Regions from separate parts of the Homo sapiens genome. Here region 2 is linked to region 1. The links are contacts of gene promoters, found by promoter capture Hi-C in blood cells and fetal thymus (Javierre and others, 2016). All regions are on one chromosome and are shown on one strand. Each heading gives the region's core, a stretch centred on a gene start or on the middle of the fragment in contact. The rest is flanking DNA. Distances are from core to core; before and after follow the strand shown. Region 1 holds the start of ORC5 (origin recognition complex subunit 5). Region 2 overlaps CCDC71L (coiled-coil domain containing 71 like).

Evidence for each region. The method cuts DNA at HindIII sites, captures the fragments that hold promoters and counts their contacts. A CHiCAGO score of 5 or more calls a contact.
Region 2: a contact is called between a fragment that was not itself captured here and the fragment with the promoter of ORC5 in region 1, in 1 of 17 cell types (total CD8 T cells). The highest score is 5.2, in total CD8 T cells.

The regions. Positions count from the first base shown.
Region 1 is chr7:104,204,378-104,210,328 of GRCh38, reverse strand. ORC5 (origin recognition complex subunit 5) reads left to right here and starts at 2,316. Exons shown (of 14, transcript NM_002553.4): 1 at 2,316-2,496. The coding sequence starts at 2,425. RefSeq lists enhancers at 2,138-2,297, 2,348-2,427, 2,468-2,657. The HindIII fragment of the contact is 7,936 bases long and covers 1,800-5,951 here.
Region 2 is chr7:106,654,883-106,660,833 of GRCh38, reverse strand. It overlaps CCDC71L (coiled-coil domain containing 71 like), which reads left to right. Exons shown (of 1, transcript NM_175884.6): 1 at 1-5,951. The coding sequence ends at 645. Among named protein-coding and RNA genes, the nearest start is that of CCDC71L, 3.3 kb to the left of the region's middle. RefSeq lists a silencer at 233-502 and an enhancer at 853-902. The HindIII fragment of the contact is 340 bases long and covers 2,291-2,630 here.

The DNA.
Region 1 (5,951 bases), core at 1,067-3,566:
TGCAGAGGTTACTGCTGTCTTTTTGTTTGTCTGTGCCCTGCCCCCAGAGGTGGAGCCTACAGAGGCAGGCAGGCCTCCTTGAGCTGTGGTGGGCTCCACCTAGTTTTAGCTTCCTGGCTGCTTTGTTTACCTAAGCAAACCTGGGCAATGGCGGGCGCCCCTCCCCCAGCCTCGCTGCCTCCTTGCAGTTTGATCTCAGACTGCTGTGCTAGCAATCAGCGAGACTCCGTGGGCGTAGGACCGTCGGAGCCAGGTGCAGGATATAATCTCCTGGTGTGCCATTTTTTAAGCCCGTCGGAAAAGCGCAGTATTAGGGTGTGAGTGACCCGATTTTCCAGATGCTGTCTGTCACCCCTTTCTTTGACTAGGAAAGGGAACTCCCTGATCCCTTGCATTTCCTGAGTGAGGCAATGCCTCGCCCTGCTTTGGCTCGTGCACGGTGCACTGCACCCACTATCCTGTGCCCACTGTCTGGCACTCCGTAGTGAGATGAACCCAGTACCGCAGATGGAAATGCAGAAATCACCCGTCTTCTGCATCACTCATGCTGGGAACTGTAGACCAGAGCTGTTCCTATTCGGCCATCTTGGCTGCCTATCGAGGCCATTATTATTCACTGTTTGGGAGACTGCAATAGTCGTTTCAACAAATGAAATTGATTCCACTTTCCACACTGTAGCCAGAAGGAATATTTCTAAGTCAAATCTCAACATTTGCTTCTCTGCCTACAATTCTTTATTGGTCCCCAGCCTGACCTCCTACTACTCTCCAGGTTTATATGTAAAAACTATTTGCTAGTTTCAGTTATGGGATTGCCCATTTGTCCCTTTTTGTCTGTACATTCTTTTGTTTACAATTTCCTTCTTGGTCTCACAGGTGAATCTTTTCTTCAGCCTCAGCTTCCAGGTTCTCTCCTCTGAGAAACCATCCTAAATCATCCAGATGGTAAGGCATGTTCTCTCAGATCAACAATTATCTTTATTATGTAACTGCCAGGCGTTAACTGTGTATGCTGGAAATTGAACTGTGAAGACAGTGTTTCCTGTCCTCATAAAGTATATAGAGAGGGAGACTAACATTTTAGACAGTTTAGTCAGTTTTATTGAATGCTATAAAGATGTCGTGTTATGATTATAATATATGTATACCTTATATGCACAGTATGTTACGGACGTATAACCATCTTAGGAGAGTATCAGAGGCCAGCTTCCCTTGGAGACATTGAAATTTAATGGGTGGTCCCATTATAACCTTTAGAATTCTCTATTAAAAAGTACCTGGGCAAATGCTTTTGAATTGTTGCTGTGAAAATACTATTTTGACTAGCTAATACGTTATATACCACAACTCTCAAAAGATCCTTTTGACCATCACAAATCTAAGACTGATCTACAATCTATGGGCAGATTGAAGTCCACAATTTAAATTTATGTATAACAGGTAGTATGTACAGGATCTTCTACTCCTAGCAATAACCTAGCCAGTATTATCCCTATTTTATAGATAAGGAAGTTGAGGCTCAACTATTCCAAAGTCCCCCTATTCAGCAGTTGAGTCAGTCAGTGGTCCCAACCCAGGGGTTTCAGGACGCCAAGCTCTCTTTCCACCATGCACTTGCCTACTTCTGTATCTTATTTCCAGAATCTTCTAGTGTTTAGTCGCTAGTAGGTGCCTCACAAATAAATACACGTGAAAGCCTAATGCTAAAAGTAGCATTATTTTTACTATCAACCTCACCAACACACACTACGACTTCATCCCATTAGGACTGAGAGGCTTTCCACATCTGGTTTAAAGCTTGCACAAAAAATAGTAATTCCAAGCTGTGCATTAAACCCCATTACACCCTGTTTTGTACTCAATGCCACTAATTTCCCACAACGTCGTCAGGGAAAAAAACGACAACAAAAACATCTTTTGACAATATTAGTCTTCTAAGTCCGCCTTCCACGTCCCTCTAAGGGCCCCAGCTCCGGGTCCGTCTTCTTAGGCACTCAAGGTTTCTAAACTTGGGGCTTCCAGCCGGTAAAACTAAAGGCACGGGGTTCAGGGGTCATTGGAGGCCCACGGGACCCCCTTAACCCCTTCCACCCCTTCCCTATTCGCCCATCTCCATGTCGTCTCCTTAGCCTTTGAGTGGAAAAAGCGTCAGCCCGAAATCCCCACCAAGCCCAAGAATGGGCAAAACCTCGGCGCGCACAGGACCAGCGAGAAGAGGATGGTTCCGGCCCTGAGACTAGAGCGGCGGCGACGCTCGGCGTACGCGCTGCCGTCACGCCGCAGCCCGGCAGCGCAGGCTCCTCCCACGACGCTGCGGGTCCGGTTTCCGGCGGGAGCGTGGGCCGCCAGACTCGGGAGAGGCTCCGTCTTGTGCAAGGGTCCTGTGGGCTGGCTGCACTGGCCTCTGCGGTGGTGCCTGCCAGAATGCCCCACTTGGAAAACGTGGTGCTTTGTCGCGAGTCTCAAGTGTCCATCTTGCAGTCCTTGTTTGGAGAGGTATTGTAGTTAAACTGTCTTCCAGATCCTGGAGGCAGACGTTTCGGTAGTCTTGCGACCTGTTCCAATATTTGTTTTTTCGTGTTTGGATTGAGGGCCAAAAGGCCGTTTTTACGTTAAATAGGGGTGTTGTGGTTCTGTACTGCAGCTTCACCCACAGTCTCTTCCGAATATTGAAGAGGAGACAGTCTGAGAGCGACCGGCCTGCACTATAGGACGTTGCCTAAGACGTATTTGAAACACGCCACACTTTTCAGAAGTTTGCCCACATTAGCTCCTAGAAGTTGCTTGTTATCTTACCCCAACCCAATGACATTTATGTAACAGATGTGTTTGCAGGGTGTTATTTATTCAAATGTAAGTTCACACGTTTCTGTGCGGTAGTTGGAGTGAGTCAAGTGTAGAGAGGTGGTTGCTTTCAAGGCCACTAAGGGCCAAAGCAGTGCTTCAGGTTTAAAAATTTACTGGCTTTTCCAGAATTGTAACAGTCCAGAAGAGGTCTAGGGTAAACTTTTCTCCTTAACTGATAGTTCACAGGATGCCCTAGAGAGGAGTTTGTCTTGTCTGGATGAACATAGATACGTAGGGAGTCCTTTCAATAGGCAGAGGGTAGCGTTCACCAATTCAAAATTTAACCTATTTTTGACTATTTTCTGGTGGTCTTTGATGTGCTTTTTGATTCAGACTCAATCAGAATTGGAATTAATCAAACTTGGATCTTACCTGCGAAGAGAGTGAATGAGAATTCAGGGTCATACTCATACCCCCATCTTCTGGTTTGCTTTTTTAAGTACAGTCATGCGTTGCTGCCACTTAGTGAGGGGGATACGTCCTGAGAAATGCATCGTTAGGCAATTTAATCCCTGTGAATATCAGAAAGTGTATTTACACAAACCTAGATGGTGTAGCCTGCTATACACCTAGGCTGTATGGTGTAGCCTGTTCCTCCTAGGCTATAAACCTCTACAGCGGTGCTACTATACTGAATACTGTAGGCAGTTGTAACACAGTGATAAGTCTGCATCTAAAAGTGTCTAAACATAGAAAAGGTACAGTGAAAATAGGGTATTATAATCTTATGAGATCACTGTTGTATATGTGGTCCATCTTTGAATGTACACGTGACTGTACTTTCATCCAACTAGAAATATTGCATGGCAATTTGAGGTGGCCTGTGAAGCATTAGTGGAAAAGTACTACCCTCTGTCTAAAGGGGTGCATTATTTAGGGAAGTTAGAGGTCAACAACTGCATCTTCAATTAATTTTCTATTTATACTGCTTTCAATTATAGTTATATTATTACTGGAGCATTTTCTTGATTATGTTCTCTGCATTTCATCTATGGAACGCAGATCACTCCAGCCAGAAATGTTCCTGCTGAAAGAGCAAATTGGCAAATAGGGATGAGTAAACTTAGTGGTGGATCACAGAAGAGTTTTTGACCTTTGCTTTTAATGAAAATTATGTTTAACAATATTTTAATATCAGTTTTCTGCAAGGTGCTGTGCATGTGGGAAATACAAACAACTATAGCAAAGAAATATAAAAAATTGGTTCATGTTTCTAAGAATACTCATTTATTTGTTCAATAAATAAATATTTACCGAGCACCTTTTCTGTGTCAGGTACTAGCTTATTGCAGTTTATGTTAGCGAGATTTATGAAGGTGAAAGGTTAAATAACAGTGGAACAGTTCAATATAATTCTAGGTCACAATAGAAAAGATGTTTAAGGTATTATTAGGCAACAACATGTAATGGATAGCAGAGATACTCAGCAACATGCATTTAATTCTTGAGACAGAATTTTTTGTTTTTGTTTTTTGAGACAGGGTTTGGCTTTCTTTCCCAGGCTGGAGTGCAGTGGCATGATCTTGGCTCACTGCAGTCTCTGCCTCCCAGGCTCAAGCAGTCCGCCCACCTCAGCCTCCGAGTAGCTGGGACCACAGGTGTTTGCCTCCAAGCCTGGCTATTTTTGTGTTTTTTGTAGAGATGGGGTTTCACTGTATTTCCCAGGCGAACTCCTGAACTCAAGTGATCTGCCTGCCTTGGCCTCCCAAAGTGTTGGGATGACAGGCTTGAGCCACTGCATCCTGCTGAGACAGAATTTTTGGGCCAGTTAATTTATGATTGTTACATATAAACTTCAGAAAAAGATTCATGTATTACATTACCTATTCATTTCAAGTAAATTTTTAGTCTATTTTTAGCAGTTGAGCTGCTTTTGCCATAGCTGTATGCCATTTAGAAAGTCTTTTTCCTGCGTAAATCTGAGTTCCTGATTTGTCTTGTAAAAGGAAATGTTTAACTTAGTGACTTGAATGTAATAAATGTTTGTGACTGTTGCTGTAATCGATGATAATTAATAGAGACTTAACTTTCTGATAGAAATTGCATAATCCCATTTTCTTGTAATTATTTAAAAAAATGTATTATTAAAAAATAGGCCAGGCACAGTGGCTCACACCTGTAATCCCAGCACTTTGGGAGGCTGAGGCAGGCAGATCACAAGGTCAGGAGTTTGAGACCAGCCTGACCAACATGGTGAAACTCCGTCTTAACTAAAAATACAAAAATTAGCTGGGTGTGGTGGCACACACCTGTAATCCCAGCTACTCAGGAGGCTGAGGCAGGAGAATCGCTTAAACCCGGGAGGCAGAGGTTGAAGTGAGCCGAGGTCACGCCATTGCACTCCAGCCTGGGTGACAGGGTGAGACTCCATCTCAAAAAAAAAAAAAAAAAAAAAGAGTATTATTAAAAAATCAAGTTTTCCCGTAATTATTTTAAAAATGTAGACTATAATTTCCTCCAAAGTAGATAATGTCTTTTACTGTTATTTGTTCTCTTCAGTACCTCATGGTTTTCAGCATTTAGTAGGTATCTAATGAAAGCGTTCATTTAAGGAATGAAGTACAAGTATTTGTAGTATTAACTAGACCAGAGAGACCTTTGACAATATTTACTTTTCTCTAAGCTGCTAACCTAATGTACTGCAAGAGGATCTTGCACATATGTATTTTAAAATAAATGCTATGCAGATTTTATTAGTGTTTTATGTGATCTAATGTATGCATTTATGCCAGCATCAGTGAGTATGCATAGTTCAGAAGTAGTCTATAAGTTTTCCTAAGAATGAGGACCCTTGAAATTCCTTTTAATCTTTTGATTATATGTACTTTATTTCATAGCATTAAAATGTATAGTGAAGTTGTGGCATCGCAGGAGATAAGAGTCTTTAAGAAGGAGTAATATAAAAATGGAGTATGAACAAAATTATCCTTGAAAAATCTCTTAAATCTGCTATGAAGTTGAAAATACTAGTTTGTATATGTAAACCTGTACGATAATAAAAATATAAATATATAGTACATAATAAAATATGCCAAATATGTTACATACATTTTAATTTCATAACAAAGAAAGTGCTTAGAGTTGAATTCAAGTAGGTTCAAAGT
Region 2 (5,951 bases), core at 1,211-3,710, 2.5 Mb before region 1:
GGCGGCGACTTTAGGGCAGAAGACGGGGCTGGGTTGGAGGCGCGGGAGGAGAAGGTGGTGTACTCGCGGTCGCAACTGTCGCTGGCTGACAGCACCAAGGCGCTGGGCGACGCCTTCAAGCTCTTCATGCCCCGCAGCACGGAGTTCATGAGCTCGGACGCGGAGCTCTGGAGCTTCCTCTGCAGCCTCAAGCACCAGTTCTCCCCGCACATCCTGCGCAGCAAGGACGTCTACGGCTACTCCTCCTGCCGGGCCCTGGTACCCGACCCCCCGGGGCCCCCTACAGCCCGCGGCCAGGCGCGCCGGCCGGTTCCGCGCGCAGCGGCCAGGAGGAGGCGCCGCGGAGCCCGGGCGGCCGCTGCCCGCAGGAGGAAGCCCCGGCCGCCACCCCCACCGCCGCCGCCCCCCGAGGAGAGCTGCCCGGCCAAGCCCGTGGCCCCCGGGCCCTGCTTCGGGGGCCGCACCTTGGAGGAGATCTGGAGGGCGGCCACCCCGACGCTGACCACCTTCCCCACCATCCGCGTCGGCAGCGACGTGTGGGGCGAGCGCAGCCTGGCGGCAGCGCGGCGCAGGGCGCGCCAGGTCCTGCGAGTGAACCTGGAACCCATGGTGAGGCTCCGCCGCTTCCCGGTGCCCCGGGCATGAGGTGCGGCCTCCAGGGCGCCTCCTGCCGGCCCCGACCTTGGGACAGGCCTTCCGCCCGGAGGAATGAACAAGTGTCAGTCGAGTGTTTACAGATCCGGCCAGGACCCCGGCCCCCAATGCACTTTACGCGCGAAGAAGTTGCCGGATGGTTGTCCCTGTCCCGGGCCGCGGCGCGGTCGTCTTGGACGCTGGGGCAGGTGTGCCCTCTGCTGCCTCCCGTACCCGGCCTGCGGAGGGAGGGGACAGCTGGACCCGCAGGGGAGGTCCCTTTCTTCCTGACCACCGATTGAGACGTCTCCAGGACCTTAGGGGCAGATCCGTTTTCTCACTGTTGGACTCTACCTCACTGGTCTGGAAGTCCTCCGAAGACATTATTTTTCCAAAGGAATTTGGTTTCGTGCTTGTGTAATAAAGCCAGAATTTACTTGTTCTTTATCTCCCCCTTTTTCTATTTCACTGTCACCCCTCTTTGTGGACAGAAGTTCGAACATGTGGTGTTGCACTAGTTTGTGCTCAGGGTATTCTGAAGCCCACTCGTTTCCTAATTTTTACTGGATTCCAAAGCTTTGATCGAGGATATTTTTTAAGAGGTTCAAGCTTGTGACTGTTAGTAGTGCAAGGATTTGTATGGGCTCAGTGATTACAAACAAAGACATGCAAAATACAACTGTTTAAACATTTTCAAGGTATTTTTAAAGGTTTTGTATTGAAACAATGTTTATATTTACTGAGCTCCTAAAAATGGTAGAATACACATGAAAACTTTTGTTTAGGAAAAGTTAACTTGTTAAATTCTTTTGAATTGAATAAAAAAATGCATTGAAACCATATGGTGTGTGATTAAAAAAAATGAATAAATTGTGAAGAACTGGTTTTGGTTACAGGAGTCACTGGAATCCGACTGGAGATGATTTGGCCCCCTGTCCTGGTCTAACATACAAATCTAGGAATATTATGCGTTAAAGTATTTTAAAATACATTATCCTTGTAATGTATTTTACAAGGATAATGTATTTTAAAATGGGAGTTGCATAGGAGAGATGGATGTGTGTAAACATTATCACTAAAATGATAAACAGAATACCCATTAGAATTCTTAGAACTATTAATGATCAAGAGGGGTGGAGGCATTTCTTGGTATCAAATAACTGGTTAAGGTTACTTTGGGCGAAATCTATTTCCTTTTTGTTTTTGTTGTTGGATAACAAGAAATGTCTAGACTAATATTCATCAGTTTTACAAACATAATGAAAATTAGTTGATTTTTAGTTGATTTTTTTGTCCCAACATTTTTTTTAACCTTTTTGCCACTCATTATATGTTTGCAGTTCTAGGTCTTTGACAGCTGAAGACCACAGGAATCAAACAGGCGAGACACACAGAATACTGACCCTTCTTTACGCTTTTATAGTGTTTATACCATATGGCCCAGTGTGGAATTCTTGATTATCCAAGTGCCTTTGGTCATTTGTGGCAGGAAAACTTAATAGTTTTTAGCCAGCAGTGCCACAGCCAGCTTTTACTGCAATACCTAAAGGGTCAAGTAGTGTTTTTGTACCACTATTATTTCAAATTTAAGTATTCTGCCATGAAACGATCCATACTGGGCTGGAACTTGACATGTGAAATCTTTAATACTAAAGCTTATCTCTGCTTGGCAGCTTTTTAGGAGAATAATGAGAGTTACAATTTTGACTCTTGCGTTCCTAGAATTCAAATGGCATAGCTTTCTGAAATGAGTATTTCAAGTTTAGTAGTCCGTATAGGAGTGTTGTGACTTCAATTTCAGTGTTCTTGTTAAAAGAAATAATATGATATATATATACACACATATATATAACTTGATGCCAGTTTTCTAGTAAGCCTCAGTCTTTTATTCACTACTCAATGATAATGCATTGTACAAACACTGTCACATGAGTAAATAAAAATGAATAATTCCTTAGAAGATGGAGAGTGTTAAATTATATTTGTGATAGGAAGCTTAGACATATCTTTTGGTTATTAGCTTCCATTGCCAATTGTATTTCAGATGCATAGGGTTTTCTTCCCAAAAATATATTGTTAACTTTTATAGCTAACTAGCACCTGGAAAAAATGTATTTGTACAACTTTACTATTGTATATAGTTTTATAATAATGAAAAATAAACCCAATGGCCATATTAGAATGCAATTTCGACATACAGCTTATCTAGATAGTTTTCCAGAGGATTTTGAAATTTGGCTTAACTGGGAGGATAACTGCTCAGCACACCACTGAAACATAACCACTGACACCATTCATTTATTTTAACTGAGATTCTTGACATTTTTCTCTCCTATGCCTTGTTACTTTAGCATACTTGAACTCACATAAATGCTTCTTTGGATTACATGGGCTATCTGATTCCATTTTGGATCTGATTGTCCATCTTGAATTCAATATGGTATTCATCTGGACTATTCAAAAATTATGCCATTTCTAGTCTGTGAAATAAGATGTAAAAAATCTTTATTTTTGCCCTTTGGTAAAAACCTATGTGACAACTTTTAAAATGTGAAGCAACATCTAATATAGTTGACTGGTATACTAATAGGAAAGTGAAAGTATTTCATGGGTACTTTGTCACAGAATGTGAAAAGAAACTTGGCATAGTGGCCTTTATAATGAGGCATCCACTTACTCCTCTGAAGTGAAGTCTGTAGCTTAGCTTGTGTATAGTTTTTGAAAGAAATCTCATGATCTTCGTTCATTCTCTTGCCTTCTCTTTTATCTCATATGGCACAAGTAGAGGGGGAAGCCAGGAGGAAATTCATCACCTCGCTATGCTTTTATTTGATTTTTAATTCCTGAGTGCCTAAATGTGGTGACCGGCACCTCACATAACTTTTTGAGATTCTTGATGTCATTTTTATCCTTCCTGTCAACCAGCAATGTATTTTTATGTTACTAAAACCAGTAACGTCATAATTGTTGAGGGCAAGCTTCATTGTTGATAGTGCAAAGTGTCGCTGTTGTGATGTGTGTTTATTTTATTCAAGTTTGAATATTGACAAGTGTAACTTAAGCTGGTGACTGACACCTATTGATCTGCTGTGTGCAAATGATAGTACTATTTTTTAGAAAACTCTTAAGTAAATTTTAAAAATATTTGAATACAAAATATCTGAGCAATTTTGAACTCAAAAGTTTTTCATTGTTTTAAGGATTGCCACAGGACTCTTTAATGGTTTTTAATGGACATACATGCCTAATATTTATTGGTGTGTTTAAAATATTTTTTGATAGAGTGTTATGTCTTAAGCGCATTAGAAAACAATTGTTTGTAATGGAATCAAAGTGTTTCCCTGGACAGTTTGATGTGCTTATGGTTGAGATTTATAATCTGCTTGTACTTTGCTTTTTAACTTATTAACTGTAAATAAATTTTAGAGAATACATAGTGTCTAGTTTTTCTAATGATTTGAACATTTTTGAAATGGTATTTTGTATTTGTATGTGACTCAGAAAACATCTTAATTTACAATTTGATAAATTTTGACTTTTTTGTGAACTTCAAATTCCCAGAAATCTCGAGATTTGTTTTTTGTGCTATCTCGGGAGTCTGTGTTCCATCAATTCTTTAATTATCTAGCGAATTTTTAGGATGGCGCTACAAGCCCAACTTATTAACCAGTTTGCCAGCAATAAAATATCCTACAAAAAAAAAATGCATCAAAATTCAGAATTCTCTAAATCCTGACCCGAGGTGCCCCTGTGACGATGACAAAAGGTCTAAAGCTCTTGCTCTTTCATGGCATGAAAGGAAGTAAGAGTGCTCCATTTGAGTACCAGTGGTATGGGCTGTTCCACAGAATAAGGGCAGGGCTAGAATTTTCATTAGAGTCTAGAAGGCAGAAGTGGAGTATTAGTGAACAGCACAGCAAGAGCCGGATTCATAGATAGTACTGTGTGGGCTGAATTTGTCTTTGTACCTAAGTTCCTATTAGTTGGAGGAAGCGTAGTGTAATAGTTGTGGAGTCACAGTGCCTGGGGTGGAATTATTATGCATACCTTTGTGACTTGCAAGTGTTGAGACTGTAGGTAAGTTACTTAAAATCTTTGTGCCTTGCTTCCTCAACTATCAAATGTGATTAGTGAAAGAAACTATTGGGATATTATAAGGATTAATAACTACCCCTTTCAAAGGGTAGTAATGCTAGACACATAGGAAGTACTAAATAAATGCTCTTAATTATAGGTATGCACAGTGAGAATAGGTATATAAGCTGAGAGTGGTCCGTTGTGAGTTTAGCTCTCCAGGTTTCTCAGCATCCCAAGAATATTGTGTGGCTCTGGGAAAGCTGTAAGATAAATGAAGAGAAGAGAATTTGTGCATGAATAAAATTGAAGACATAAGGAAATCATATAATTTTTTAGCTTGCTGACTATGCAGTAGGAGATTGGATTAAGTTGATTTATTACAATTTTTGTTGTTGGAGTTTTTTTAAAGATTCACATCTTCTTTTGTTATATCTCTATAAGACATTTGAATGTACTGTTATGTGTTTTAAACTATCTGAGAATTTATAACAGTAATAGATTTAAAGCTGTTGATCCAAGAACTTACAAAAGTTTTGGACTACATATTTGCTTAGAGTAAGCTCAGTAAGTGTTGCTTATAAATGATGTTAATTTATATGCATAGAACCAAGCTATAGTTTGTATAAAGTTTATAATTCAGGTGTTAAAGGAAACAAAGTGAGTACAATAGCTGTGCTTGAAACACCAGAAAATTATTACTGAAAGTAAAAAAAATCTTGTATTTGAAGCATTGACACACTCATTTTTGGATGTCAGATATAAAGCCTGTAATTTAGGTTTAATTCCTCATAGCACAGAGAATAGAACATCCTCTAAATTGGTGAACAAGCCAAAGTTGCAGTTATCTGAAGTTGACACAAAATAATTTCCTGGAAAATTATTAGATGAAAGTCATACAAGAACAAGAAGCTAAAAATTGAGCCTAATTGCAGATTTCACAGAAGTAATGACTTCTCACTGTCATCACTCTCTTGTGTCTTGGTAAATGTCATTCTAAACCATGATCTATAACATAATAAACATATCTAAAGCCCAATTGGAAAGTAATAATCATAAAAACACCAAACACTATGTTTAGCCCAGAAAATTTGAATAAGTAGTCTACTGAATCCAAAACTGGACTTATTTAGCTTCCGAAAGCATTCATAGAAAAGTTAAATTGAGATTCTTCCAAGTAGTACAATTAACTGTAAAATGTGTACATATTTCTCTTTTCAAGGATTTTTTTCAAGTACATATTC